3 separate regions of the Homo sapiens genome follow, and regions 2 and 3 are each linked to region 1. Evidence: promoter capture Hi-C in 16 types of primary human blood cells and fetal thymus (Javierre and others, 2016). All regions are on one chromosome and are shown on one strand. The core of a region is centred on a gene start or on the middle of the fragment in contact, and the rest is flanking DNA. Distances in the headings are between cores, read along the strand shown.

Region 1 (4,168 bases), core at 1,355-3,854:
TGTCTCTAATGTGCCTTCCACCTCCAAAGTTCTTACTTCTTTCAGACCTTAGTGAAAAAATTTAGATGGCAAAACTTTTTTGTGGTTGTCTAGACAATACAGTCATTATAAAGTTATTCATTCTACATACAGTAAATGCAGCACCTATTATGTGCCAGATACCATTAATATATAGTGATACAAAAATCACTAAAAAGCATGCTGCTTTCTCTCAAGAATCCAGAGTTCAATAAAGAGGAGCATGCAAACACATTACACTATAATTATTACATTCATTAATTCATCACACTCATTGGGCAACATGCCAGTCACTGCCCTGAGTGCTCCAAATACAATGCTGGGCAAAAATAGCCATAGTACTGCCTTCAAATAGGTTACTATCTAATTGGATAGATATACATTTAACAGATAAGGAAAGACACACAATATAATAAGAGTACAACAGAGGGACCTGACCTGGTCAGGAAAGTTTTCCTAAAGAAGTGACTGTTGGGTTAAAATCCAAAAGATGAAGAAAAGAGGAAATACAATTCCAGACAGAGGGGAGACAGCTCTAATGTGAGAAAAAGCTTAAAGGTTTTGAGAAACTGAAAGAAAGTTAGCCTAACTAGAAGTTTGAAAGAGAAAGAAAAAATTTGAAGTGTAGTCAGGGCCCAAAAAATATGCAGGGTTTTTGTTTGTGGGTCATGGTGGAGAGTTTAGAGCAACATTAAGGTGATCTTTTGAGCAACATCAAGGTCCCTGGGTGACATGATTGGAACTGCATTTTTAAAAGTTACTCTGGCTTCAATTTGGAGAACAGATTGAAAGGAAAAAACAACGACTCAAGGCAAAACATTTAGGAAACTGTTGCTCCTATCTCTAAGTGAGATATGATGGAATAACAGTACAAACCATACACGGGTTATAGTAAATGAGTGCTGTATCAAGTGTACAAATTACAAGAGTAAAGGCAAAGGTAAGAGATAGGGAAACGTTCTACAGAGGTTATGCCTTTACTGTATCTTAGCACATGAACAGAGGAAACACAATGTATAAAATATTGTAATGTGAAAAAGCACAGCAATTATGTAACTACAAAAAACAGTAATAGTATCCAAGATGAAGCAGTCAAAGTTAGAATAAAGGAGGGAAACAGAACTTCTATTTACTCATATTTATGTTCTCTAAAAATTATGCTATATAAACATCAAATATATAAATTAACAGTAATTCATAAATATATATGAAGTTCATGCTCAATATCTTTTTTTAACTGATAGGGTGTGTATTCAAAAAGTTTGGAGTCCACTGGTCTAAGCTCAAGGTGCCCAGGTGGTGGGGAGAAGAGGTTCCAATATGGAACACTGGAAAAGTAGGCAAGCACCAGGTCATAACGTTTAGACTTTATTCTGTATGCAATTAATAAATATTTAAAAGATTTCATCAGAAGAATAACCTGATCAGGCTTACATTTCGTGTAGACGAATCTAGCACCAAACTCAGGGAGTATGGAGGCCTATGGAAAACAAGATAAAGTAATCGCAAGAGTCTAGACAAGAAGTGATCACAGCCTGAATTAAGTCAGTGGAACTGGAGAGGTGAGGGCAATTTTAAGAACTCAGATCACAAAATTTAGTGATAATTAGAATATGGGATAAAGAGATTAAGACTCTCAGGTTTCTAGCTTAGGAGCAGCACATCTGGTTGAGAAATGGAGGAGAAAAGGGGTGCTTAGTTTTTCAGTGTCTTTTTAAGAGGAGGTAGGATAAGCAGAAGATAAAACTTTGCACACGGATTTTCAAATGTCTCCTGACTATCCCGGATTCTTAGTCAGCTGGATATGCAGGCCTGAAAAAGATACCAGACATCTAGATTGTAGACCGGGACTGAGGAATCATCAGAGTATGGTGAATAGTAAAAGCATTATAGAGCACCAGAACATCCTGTGTCCACGTTTAAAAATGGGAAGCTGGAGGAGCCCAGGATAAAACTAAGCACCCCTTTTCTCTTCCATTTCTTAACCCAGACGTGTTGCCCCTAAGCCAGAAACTTGAGAGTTTTAATAAACACTTATATTTATCCCATGTTCTAATTATCACTAAATTCTATTATCTGGATTCTTAAAATTGCCCTCATCTCTCCAGTTCCGTCTGACTCCTATCAAAACAGAGGGCTGCAGTTGAGTAGTAGGAAAGCAGTTGCTGCACACTGACATTTCACGAGCCTCTTGCTCGTATTTCACCTAAGAACTGCACACATGTAGGAGCAAAGGATCAGGTCCTCCTCTGTCTCCGAGGGTTTGATTATTTCAATTCATCGTTTTAAAACGCTGAAACAGACCAACAGTGTCCTAACCCGTGCCCAGTGATACCCTCCTCAAACCCAGCCTGGGTCAGGGGCTGATTGACTCCAGGAGGCGTCCCTCAGCTACTGTGTATCGGACATCTGCTGGAGGGCTCACAGCCGGCCTCCCGGCTGTGGTCAAATGAGCCTGACTCCTACCTCGATATGACTAGCGGCCACGCTGCCGAAGGACAAGAGCAACACAGTTGCCAAGACAGTCGCAGCCCGGCTGAGGCTGTCGGTGACGGCCATGTTTACCGGCTTCAGACTTCCCGCACCTGAAGGGGCGGAGGCAGTGCCGTAAAGTAGCGCTGCGGGTTTTTGCGACACCATCCGCGCCTCTTCGAGGTGGCCCTCTGGTCCGGCTTTAGAACTCTGCGGTTTTGTGGAGCTCGAGAGTCCGGGACAAGGTAGACGCAGGATATTGACCTTTTTATTTTTAACTGCATTTTCAGTTTGGAGGTTGTAAAATAGGTATAACATTTAAGAAAAAAAATTGAAAGGTGAGTGGAGGGAAAACCCGTAACTCCTTAAACTTTAAAAACTTATTTCTCTGTTCCCTTATTTATTTTATTTATTTATTTATTTATTTATTTATTTATTTTGCCGAGTGCTGCCAATTCTTTGAAAATATGAAGCTGGATGTGGTGGGAAGAACAAGCGTTTTGGCACAAAAAGATGATTAATTGGATAAACTATAAATGGAAAATGTGGGTGGGCGCTGCAATTTAGAGGCTTGGGGTCTACTACCTGGTGAAAGGATTAACATGGGAAGCTAGTTACGTTTTTGTTTCTTGAGTATCTTCTGTAATTATGGAACTAAAGCCTATCTGGAAGAGACACAGCTGGTGTATATGTATGGTCCACCATTCTCTTTATTATGTGAGTTCAGTTTTAATTTATGCATTTCATCTAGTATGACATAAACGTTTCCACGCTGCTTCCTCACAATTTTAACATTTAATGGTGAGATAAAATTCCATCCATTATTGATGCCTCAGCCAAAGTAATTGTCCCTCTGCTGCACAATGCAAAGTTTTTAAGTTTTACTATGAAAATAATATTGTAAAGAGTATCTTTTGTGTGTTTGGCTTTTTAAATCTGTTGAATTATTTTGTTTGTATAATTTTCCTGAACTAGGAATTTGGGGTCAAAATATTCCAAAACATTTTAATAACTATAAATGATGTTGCTTTCCAAAATGAACAAGCTTACAGCACTATCAGAATACACAACACCAAACCATACCATTTTTTTTCCTTTAAATTCTTTGGTATGAAATGTTACCCCTAGGTAACTATACTTATAATTCTTTGGTTACTATCAAGATCTGATGTCTTTCTTGTGTTTCTAAACTATCTCTGTGTCCTCTGATGTAAATTCTTTGTTTATATATTTATGTTTTGCATATGAATTTGAATAATATATTTATAAATAAGTAACATTAGCCTTTGCCATATTTTATGCTATTGCTTTTCCCATTCTCTTGTCTCTCTTTTCCTTTTATTTGTTTCTTTTGCTATTGCACTTTGTGAGAGGTTTCATGCTATTTAGTCAAATTTAGGTTTTCCGTTACGTGAATCCTAGAAAGTAAATACACTGCCAGAATATCTTCCATGTATTCATTAATTCAACAGATATCTATTGGATGCTGATGATTATGAAACAAAGTAGCAAAGATAAGAAGCCATTTGCTCATTCTGCTCCTTTGCCAGCAATATTTCACAAAGCCCCTGACTCATTGACTGTGAGCAGCCTTGTGGAAGAATGCCTTGAAGACCATAAGCAGGATAGGGAATAGGTTTGCACATCTCTTGCCTGAATCACTGAATTTTTACAAAAG
Region 2 (4,027 bases), core at 1,384-3,883, 670 kb after region 1:
ATCCACCCGCTTCAGCCTCCCAAAGTGCTGGGATTACAGGCGTGAGACACCATGCTCAGCCAACTCACTTCTTTAAATCACAGAAATAAATATGTAATTATAAATTGATATGTATAGGGGCAGGGCACAGTGGCTCACACCTGTAATCCCAGCACTTTGCGAGGCCGAGGTGGGTGGATCACTTGAGGGCAGGAGTTCAAGACCAGCCTGGCCAACATGGTGAAACCCCATCTCCACTAAAAATACAAAAAGTAGCCAGGTGTGGTGGCACGCGCCTGTAATCCCAGCTACTTTTGAGTCAGGAGAATCGATTGAACTGGGGAAGCGGAGGTTGCAGTGAGCTGAGATCGTGCCACTGCACTCCAGCCTGGGCGACGGAGCGAGACTACATCTCCAAATAAATAAATAAATAAATAAATAAATAAATAAATAAATAAGCAAATAAATAGGAATATATATATATAGGGAAGAGAAAGGTGGGATGAAAGGTGAGGTGCAAGGTGGGGAGAAAGGTGGGATGCAAGGAAGCCTTCTCCGAGGAAGCAGCATTTAAGAAGAGATCGGGAGGATATGTTGAAGTTAGGTGAAGGGGAAAGTGGGAGAAAGGATTTCATGCAGGGAACAACTTATACAAAGGCCCTGCAGCCAGACTGCCCATAGAAAGTTTCATGAACTGAAGAAGGCCAAGGTGATGGCATCAAAGAGAGCAAGGGCACAAGCAAGACTACCAAGACCACCTATCACTATCCGTAGTTCGGTACATTTAAATAATTTTAATTACCAATTTTGAACTTTTCTGTAATCGAGGAATGAATGGCTTACCCTCCTTAGAAAAGTTTCCATCCTGAGTAAATACTGTGGGGATGGGACTGGGGAACAGAGTTATATTTGAGTAGAAGGCCTTTTGTGTGTACGGGTGTGAGAGAGAGAGAAACAGAGAGAGAGAGGGAGTTTCACTCTTGTTGCTCACGCTGGAGTGCAATGGCGCCATCTCAGCTCACAGCAACCTCAGCCTCCCGGGTTCAAGCGAAGTGGGTTCTTCAACCTCAGCCTCCCAGGTAGCTGGGATCACAGGCGCACGTCACCACGCCCGGCTAATTTTTTGCATTTTTAGTAGAGATAGAGTTTCACCATGTTGGCCAGGCTGGTCGCAAACTCCTGACCTCAGGTGATCCACCCGCCTTGGCCTCCCAAAGTGCTGGGATTACAGGCAGGAGCCACCGCGCCCGGCCTTTTTTTTTTTTTTTGGAGACAGAGTCTCATTTTGTCACCCAGACTGGAGTGCAGTGGGATGATCTCTGCTCACTGCAACCTCCGCCTCCTGGCTTCAAGTGATTCTCCTGCCTCAGCCTCCTGAGTAACTCAGATTACAGGTGTGTGCCTCCACACTAGGCTAATTTTTTGTATTTTTAGTAAAGACGGCCTTTTGCCATGTTGGTCAGGCTGGTCTTGAATTCCTGACCTCAAGTGATCCACCCGCCTCGGCCTCCCAAAGTGCGGGGATCACAGGCATGAGCCACCGCGCCCAGCCCAGAAGGCCTTTTCAACATCCCTGAAATATAACCTGAGCACCGCTGTCTGCTTAGGGCCTGAAGGTGGAAGTGGTTACCTTTATTCTTTATCTGGATGTCATTTCGATTTTTTTTTCAAGTGCAGTGAAGAATTAAAGATCTCGTCCACCAAAAATACTCCGAGTGTGCATTTCGGGTTTTAATATGGTATTGTCTGATGGGTTTGACAGGCTGGCGGTCCAAGTTGAAAAAGGTCTGTGGGTGTCTAATAGTCAAAGATGCCTTTATGAAGCTTTAGAAAGACCAGATATGGTTTGCCTTCAATTAAGAAAAAGGTGGAATATAAAGATATTTGTACTTATATAAATATATTCCTTCTTTTCTTCTCCTCCTCCTCCTCTGCCTTCAACTTTCTTCTTCTTCTTCTTCTTCTTCTTCTTCTTCTTCTTCTTCTTCTTCTTCTTCTTCTTCTTCTTCTTCTTCTTCTTCTTCTTCTTCTTCTTCTTCTTTTTTAACTCTCCTTTTAGAGTTAAAGACTGGAGCTAAGAACAGGGGAGCAATAGACAGATGAAGTGTTCCCGGATTGCTGCCCCACGCTCTTTGTAATAAAGGAAAACTTGGCCAAAGGTCAATGCTTAGGGTAGTAGAAGATATGTAGTGGCTTGGCTTCTTGACTGGAAACTAGGACGGGTAGAGTAGCTGAGAGAAGTGGGCCCCAGAGCAAACTGGTTGCGGGTAGGGGGAGCCAGCTTCAGCCCGGTAATGAAGCCCATTTCAGCCTCATTCCTTTCCCATGGCGGAGGCAGCCTTCCTTCCCCAGGCCTGGCTGGAGGTGGAGGCAGGCCCAAAGTTAGGGGGTCAGCTCGCGCACCTAGGGCCGGGAGACAGACAAATTCTGGCGGAAAGTTGGCAGCCACGGTCCCCCTCCCCTGCTTTTCTCCTCAACTCTCCACCCCCACTCCGGGTGATAACGGCGGAGGTGGGGGGTTGGGGGAACTGGCCTTGTGTTTTGGAACAGCTGCAGCCGGCGCTGGGCCCGCCTGGAATGCGGGAACAGGCTGCACACCAGGACTTTTATGGAAACTTGCTGCTGGAGACGGCGGCGGCGGCGGCGGCAGCGGCAGCCAGAGGACTCCCAGCGGCTGGAGCAGAAGTGTTAGCGGCCAGAGCTCCCAGACCCCTACCCACAGCCAGGCGGGACGCGCACAGTCCCTCCACGCGGAAAGAAGTACCTTCGCCGGTCACCGGCTCCTGCAGGGTGAGAAGAGTTGGGGGAACGTGGGCTGGGGGGAGTGGAGACGGAGGTGTCGGGTCCCCTGGTGGGGGCGGGGGCGGGAACGGCGGCTGCAGAGAGGCGCTCGGGGTCTGCGGCTTCTGGCCGTGCTCCGCTGCAGCTCCGGAGGGCGCCGGGCGCCATACAGCTGTGGTCCGCGCTGGCCCCGGCCCGGGCGAACCCTGCCTTGGAGCCGCATCCTGCGGGCTCGGCGGGGTGCCTACCAGGGGCTGCCCCAGGGTCTGAAAGTGTCGGCCGGCCTTGGGCTTCTGGTTGCAATGTCTTTGCCCTGCTCCCCTGCGCCTTGTCGGCTGAGTTTCGGGTGCGTTCCCTACTGTAGGGAGGGAGCCCTCTGTGAGCGGAGTGGGTGCCGATCCCTCGGCTGAACCCTTGGGGTCCTTAGGGAAGTTCAGTGCCGTCCCCCACCACTTGCCCCAGCCGCGGTCTCCGTCTCTGCCAGCAGTGCCAGTTAAGAAATCCTTTCTGATCGGTCTCTGTGGAAGATGGGGAGAAATATGATTTAACAGCCTATTACTCCCCCCCCACACCCCCGCATATCCCCCCACTCCTGTCTCCAACCCTTTTTTTTTTTTTTTTCGTGATTCTGCCCGAGGTGGGATGCTGGGGGTTGAGCAACTAGGGCTGGAAGTTTACGAAGTTTACGTAGTTTAAGTGAGTGAAGAATGTAGTCACCTCTTGAGAACTCCCTTTGCCTATATGCTTTTGAAAACGCCAAACCATTCCAGCTGTTTGTAAATTGTGAAACGTTCTACAAATGCATTAGCATTGGCATTTATAAAGAAAATGACGAAGTTGAGAGGTTATAGTTGGTTACTGCAGTGACTTAGAGATGCTCATTTTATAGTTATTAAAGCACAACGTGAACCAAGTTGGCAGAGAGATAACAAGGTAAAAATAGCATAAGGATATGTCCTAACAAAATGTCCTTGGTGAAGACACAGGTAGAGAAAAGAAGCCATAATAAAGAAATTAGTTCCCTGACCAAAACAACGGGAATATCATTCATCGTTAAATTTTGTTAATGAATTCATGTAGCAGCGGCCCATTGGCCTTCGAGTCACAACATAACTATGTCTTAGGTAATGTGATTAAATAAACTTAAGTATTTATACTTAAGTTCATATCTTAGTCACACGTTATTTATATCTTAGTCACACGTTATTGAGTGGACCACATAATTTCCCCCGCTAAACATTATCCTTTACAGGTTAAACTGCTGCAG
Region 3 (4,284 bases), core at 234-2,733, 760 kb after region 1:
CTGGTTCTGGTAAAATAAAATAGTTGGTTCCAGTAAATAAAATAGTTCCCTTAAGTTTTACAAATCAATCTAATAAAACACGCTAAGAGTGTTTGTCATAGTTATATGCTTGTTGCTAAACATGTTCAGAATTTCTTAAATTACGTGGAAAAAACCGCAGAACTAATATTAATGATGACCTTTTGTTGACTACTCCTAGTATTTCTGGTTATAAAAAAGTACAGGTACATGTTTATAATGCGTTCACATTAGATGTGTTACAACGGATTTTATGAATTCTAATTTTGACTCAATGTTCCTTCAACTGTCCCGGTAAAAAGTTAACTAAGTGAACTCCTAATGCAACGAAAACACAGCACAACACTGGTTTCTAATTATCATTAGCTTAAAACTAGTAAAAAATGCCCAGCACCTAGTACAATATGCATAGTGTCACAGAGAATAGGATTCTTTTGCTTACATGCAAATCTATACCAACACCATACATTTTGAAATGTTAAATATATTAGGGGACTATCTAAGAATGTAAAGTTCAAATTAAGGTATCTTTTATTTTCCTGGAATACACGCACTATTTTAACAGCTTTCGTCTGGGAAAGTGGTGCCTTCAGGGCAAATGCACGCACTACGTAATACAAAGAGGTCTGGTCAGTTTACGACTCTGAACTGAGAGGCAGATTCAAATTGAAACCTCTGGTATAATGGGCCTGAGGCCATTTTGAGAAATAAGGGGGGCGGACTGGTGGAACAGACTGACACGTAAATCCCGCCCAGAAAAAGGCTGCTTTCAAGTCCCTTCCTTGTAGAGGTGTGACGGTGAATGGTACTGAAAGCGGTTTTAATTGCGAGAGAGAACGGAAATGAGCTGTAAAGGCTACTTTAATGATAAATCCCTTCCCTTGCTATGGCTCCAGGACAGACCCTAGTTCTTTCCCAAACTCATTACCAGAACCTTCCATTAAATTGTGTGAAACTAACTGCGCTTTATCCCCTGGAAGAGGATCTTTATCTAAACTAGCTCACTGGAGACACGCGAGTGCCGCAGAAGCGGGAGAAAGACTTCAGGCCTTCTTTGCGTAGCACGCGTCGGGGTTCTAAGTGGATTAGGCACCAAGAACACAAAACTGGGTTCTGGTCTCTAATCGTTATTACCAACATGGGGAAACGTGTCTCTTCACATTTCAGCCCGGAAGAACACCTCTTTCCTCTTCCTCATGCGCTTAAGGGTAGCGGCCTACTCAGTCAGCGGCCAATTACCGTGAGCTTTCGGGATTCCGCCGCGCGGTCCACACTTACCTGCCGGGCTCTCTGCAGTGCATCTTTGAAAGCGTCGTTAACTCCTCCACCACCACCGCCGCCACCACCGCCACCAGCTGAGCCAGAAGAGGGGGGAGGCACTGTTGAATAGTCTGCCATGGTTGCACTATAAGAGCCGCTGCCGCCTGTTCAGAGACTTCCTCTCAGCTAACAGCTAAGAAAGAAAGAAAATGGCGGCCGTCGAAGCTCTATTACATTCTTGCGCGACCATCGTGCCGTAAAGGGGCGGAGACTGAAGGAACAAAATCTCGCGATGTTTCCGAGGCAACGCGCTGGTGTGGGTTAGGGCTGAGAAAGAACGACAGGAACAGAGACGTCGCGAGGATTAAGTTTAAGACTTCGCGAGAACAGAATTTCTTTTGGCACCTCCTCTCCGCGCGTTCTTGGGGTGAGGCTGGGTAATTGTTCCTGCAGGGTGGTGGGTGATAGTGGCCAGTTGACTGCGACTGTGTTTGGGTGGTGGGAAGCCTGAAGAAAAGGTTGTTTCTTACCGGTCGCTGCCTCAGGGAGGTAGTGCGGTAGAATTTTCCGCTATGGGTCATTCTCGGTGTCCGCGGGGAAGGGCGTGACAACGACGGGCGTGACGGCGAAGCAACAGTGTCTCGAGAGCGCTGCCGCCCGGAGGGCGCCAGGAGAAGTGCGTCCGAGACGCCGCGCGGTGATGCTCCTGAAAACGTCTGCCCGGCGTAGCGGGAACCCAGCATGATTTTCAGGGTAGTAAAGTGTCCCTGTATTTTACTTACAGACTGTCCGATTTTTTAGTTTTATCACGAGGGTGGGTGTTGAATTCAGGCTGGAAGCCTGTTAGTTCTCGACCATATTTTAAGTTTTTTGTTTAAAATAATGTGGATGAGGCTCTAAAAGTATGACTGCCCTTTTCTTTATCCAAAAACGTGATTGTTCTTAAAGTTCAGTGTTAGCCAGATTTAATAACCTAGTATATGTATGTGTCCATGGCCATTTTTATTAAGGGTTTTTTTTTGTTTGTTTGTTTGTTTTGAGAGTCTCGCTCTGTTACCCAGGCTGGAGTGCAGTGGCGCGGTCTCGGCTCACTGCATCCTCCGCCTCCTGGGTTCAAGCGATTCTCCTGCCTCAGCCTCCCGAGTAGCTGGGACAACAGGCGCCTGCCACCACGTCTGGGCTAATTTTTTGCGTTTGTAGTAGAGACGGGGTTTCACCGTGTTAGCCAGGATGGTCTCGATCTCGTGACCTCGTGATCCACCCGCCTCGGCCTCCCAGAATGCTAGGATTATAGGCGCGAGGCACTGCGCCCGGCCTGTTAAGGTCTCTTAAGTTAAGAACAGCATTGTTTCTTGACCAAAATAGATTTTGTAGCTTCTTAGGCGTAGTTTCTCCCACCCCATCCTGTGGGTACTCAAATGTAAGATCATATTCTGAATTGTCATCACAGGACTAGGTATATATATATATATATGTGTGTGTGTGTGTGTGTGTGTGTGTGTGTGTGTAAATTGGTATTTTATGTTATGTACTTCAGTTACCAAGTAATGCCAGACATTTCTTCAGACCTTCTCCAACATATCGTGGCATGTAATTTACTGTGTTAATAGTAGTAAGCTCCAGGAATCGTGAGGATACTTTAGAAGTCTTACTCTTTATTATTGAGTATATCACAGTGACTTTTTTTTTCCAAAATTATTTGTTTAAATAACAAACAATGAGGTAAAATGAACTTTCTCGACTTTGTGGCATTTTGTCTTACTTGGTTAGGTCTAAAAAAATACTTTTTCAGCAGCTCTTAAGAGTAATTGTGAGAAATATATATATGCTGCATTCTTTCTGAAAACCTAAAAGTAATGTGTTCATTTGCTTAAGCACCAAAATAGCAGTTAATATGAATGTAGATACAGGTGAGCCATCATTTCCCTTTAATCAGCTTTTAAGGCAGTAGTATCCATTTATAGCTCTGATGATCTTTTTCAGTGTTCATGGCCATCCCTATAAATTTTGGTGGAATTTGCATTTGAAAAATCAGTGCACGTATGGGACTACAGATTTAATCATAATGTATAGAAAAACAGTAAAAGCAGTGTTGGGTGTGCGGCTAGGTAGAAATTTTCCAGTTGTATTTTGAAAATGTCTTGATTTTTTCATATTTTATTAATTAGGCAATACAATCAGATCTTTTGATCAATGTAATTTACCACAGTGCTATAATTTACCCTCAAAACAAATTTATGTATATCTCAATTTATTTTAGTTATCACTGAATATTGAAAATATGTAAGGACCTCAATTTTTTTTTTTTTTTTTTTTACATACTCGCTCTGTTGCCCAGGCTGGAGTGCAGTGGCACGATCTTGGCTCACTGAAACCTCAGCCTCCCAGGTTCAAGAGATTCTCCCACCTCAGCCTCTGGAGTAGCTGGGATCACAGGTGTGCACCACTATGCCTAATTTTTTTTTTTTTTGAGACGGACTCACCCTGTCACCCAGACTGGAGTGCAGTGGCATGATCTCGGCTCACTGTAACCTCTGCCTACTGGCTTCAAGCAGTTCTGCCTCAGCCTCCCGAGTAGCTGGGATGACAGGCACCCACCACTACGCCCAGCTGATTTTTGTATTTTTAGTAGAGACAGTGTTTCACCATGTTGGCCAGGCTGGTCTCGAACTCCTGACCTCATGATCCACCCTCTTTGGCCTCCCAAAGTGCTGGGATTACAGGCATGAGCCACCGCGCCCAGCCACAATAAAATTCTTGATAGCTTAATCTTTTGGAAAAATTAATGCTTGAGACAAAGGTTCTTTGTGAAAATATAAATAAACTGCTTTTTAGGATCTCTTCAGTGAAGCTGGGAGGAATATTTGGGGGGTTGCTAAGGTGTCATTCCAAACTTTTCAGTGTTCTTCAAATCTAATAAAAGAACAAACATCTTTAGTGTATTATACAAAAGGCCTCTTTGAATATTAATGGAGTATTTGTTTGGTCACTCCACACATTCATTGC

Evidence for each region. Contacts are between HindIII fragments. The CHiCAGO score rates a contact against its expected background, and 5 or more counts as called.
Region 2: the fragment with the promoter of NEXN here is called in contact with the fragment with the promoter of PIGK in region 1 in 2 of 17 cell types (erythroblasts and total B cells); the score reaches 11.0 in erythroblasts.
Region 3: a contact is called between the fragment with the promoter of FUBP1 here and the fragment with the promoter of PIGK in region 1, in 8 of 17 cell types (fetal thymus, total B cells, naive CD8 T cells and 5 more). The highest score is 11.1, in fetal thymus.

Annotation. Positions count from the first base shown.
Region 1 is chr1:77,216,826-77,220,993 of GRCh38, forward strand. It overlaps PIGK (phosphatidylinositol glycan anchor biosynthesis class K), which reads right to left and starts at 2,605. Exons shown (of 11, transcript NM_005482.3): 1 at 2,485-2,605. The coding sequence starts at 2,577. It overlaps LOC105378808 (a long non-coding RNA gene), which reads left to right and starts at 2,695. Exons shown (of 3, transcript XR_001738109.2): 1 at 2,695-2,828; 2 at 3,963-4,168. RefSeq lists an enhancer at 2,289-2,398. The HindIII fragment of the contact is 2,966 bases long and covers 568-3,533 here.
Region 2 is chr1:77,885,991-77,890,017 of GRCh38, forward strand. It overlaps NEXN (nexilin F-actin binding protein), which reads left to right and starts at 2,634. Exons shown (of 13, transcript NM_144573.4): 1 at 2,634-2,769. NEXN-AS1 (NEXN antisense RNA 1) reads right to left here and starts at 3,549. Exons shown (of 3, transcript NR_103535.1): 1 at 3,478-3,549; 2 at 1,610-3,278. RefSeq lists an enhancer at 2,579-2,638 and a silencer at 2,879-3,018. The HindIII fragment of the contact is 9,507 bases long and covers 1,802-4,027 here.
Region 3 is chr1:77,977,589-77,981,872 of GRCh38, forward strand. It overlaps FUBP1 (far upstream element binding protein 1), which reads right to left and starts at 1,484. Exons shown (of 20, transcript NM_003902.5): 1 at 1,297-1,484. The coding sequence starts at 1,416. It also overlaps a transcript of DNAJB4 not described here. RefSeq lists enhancers at 1,048-1,097, 1,168-1,217, 1,228-1,287, 1,298-1,427, 1,738-1,887 and 1 more. The HindIII fragment of the contact is 9,300 bases long and covers 1-4,284 here.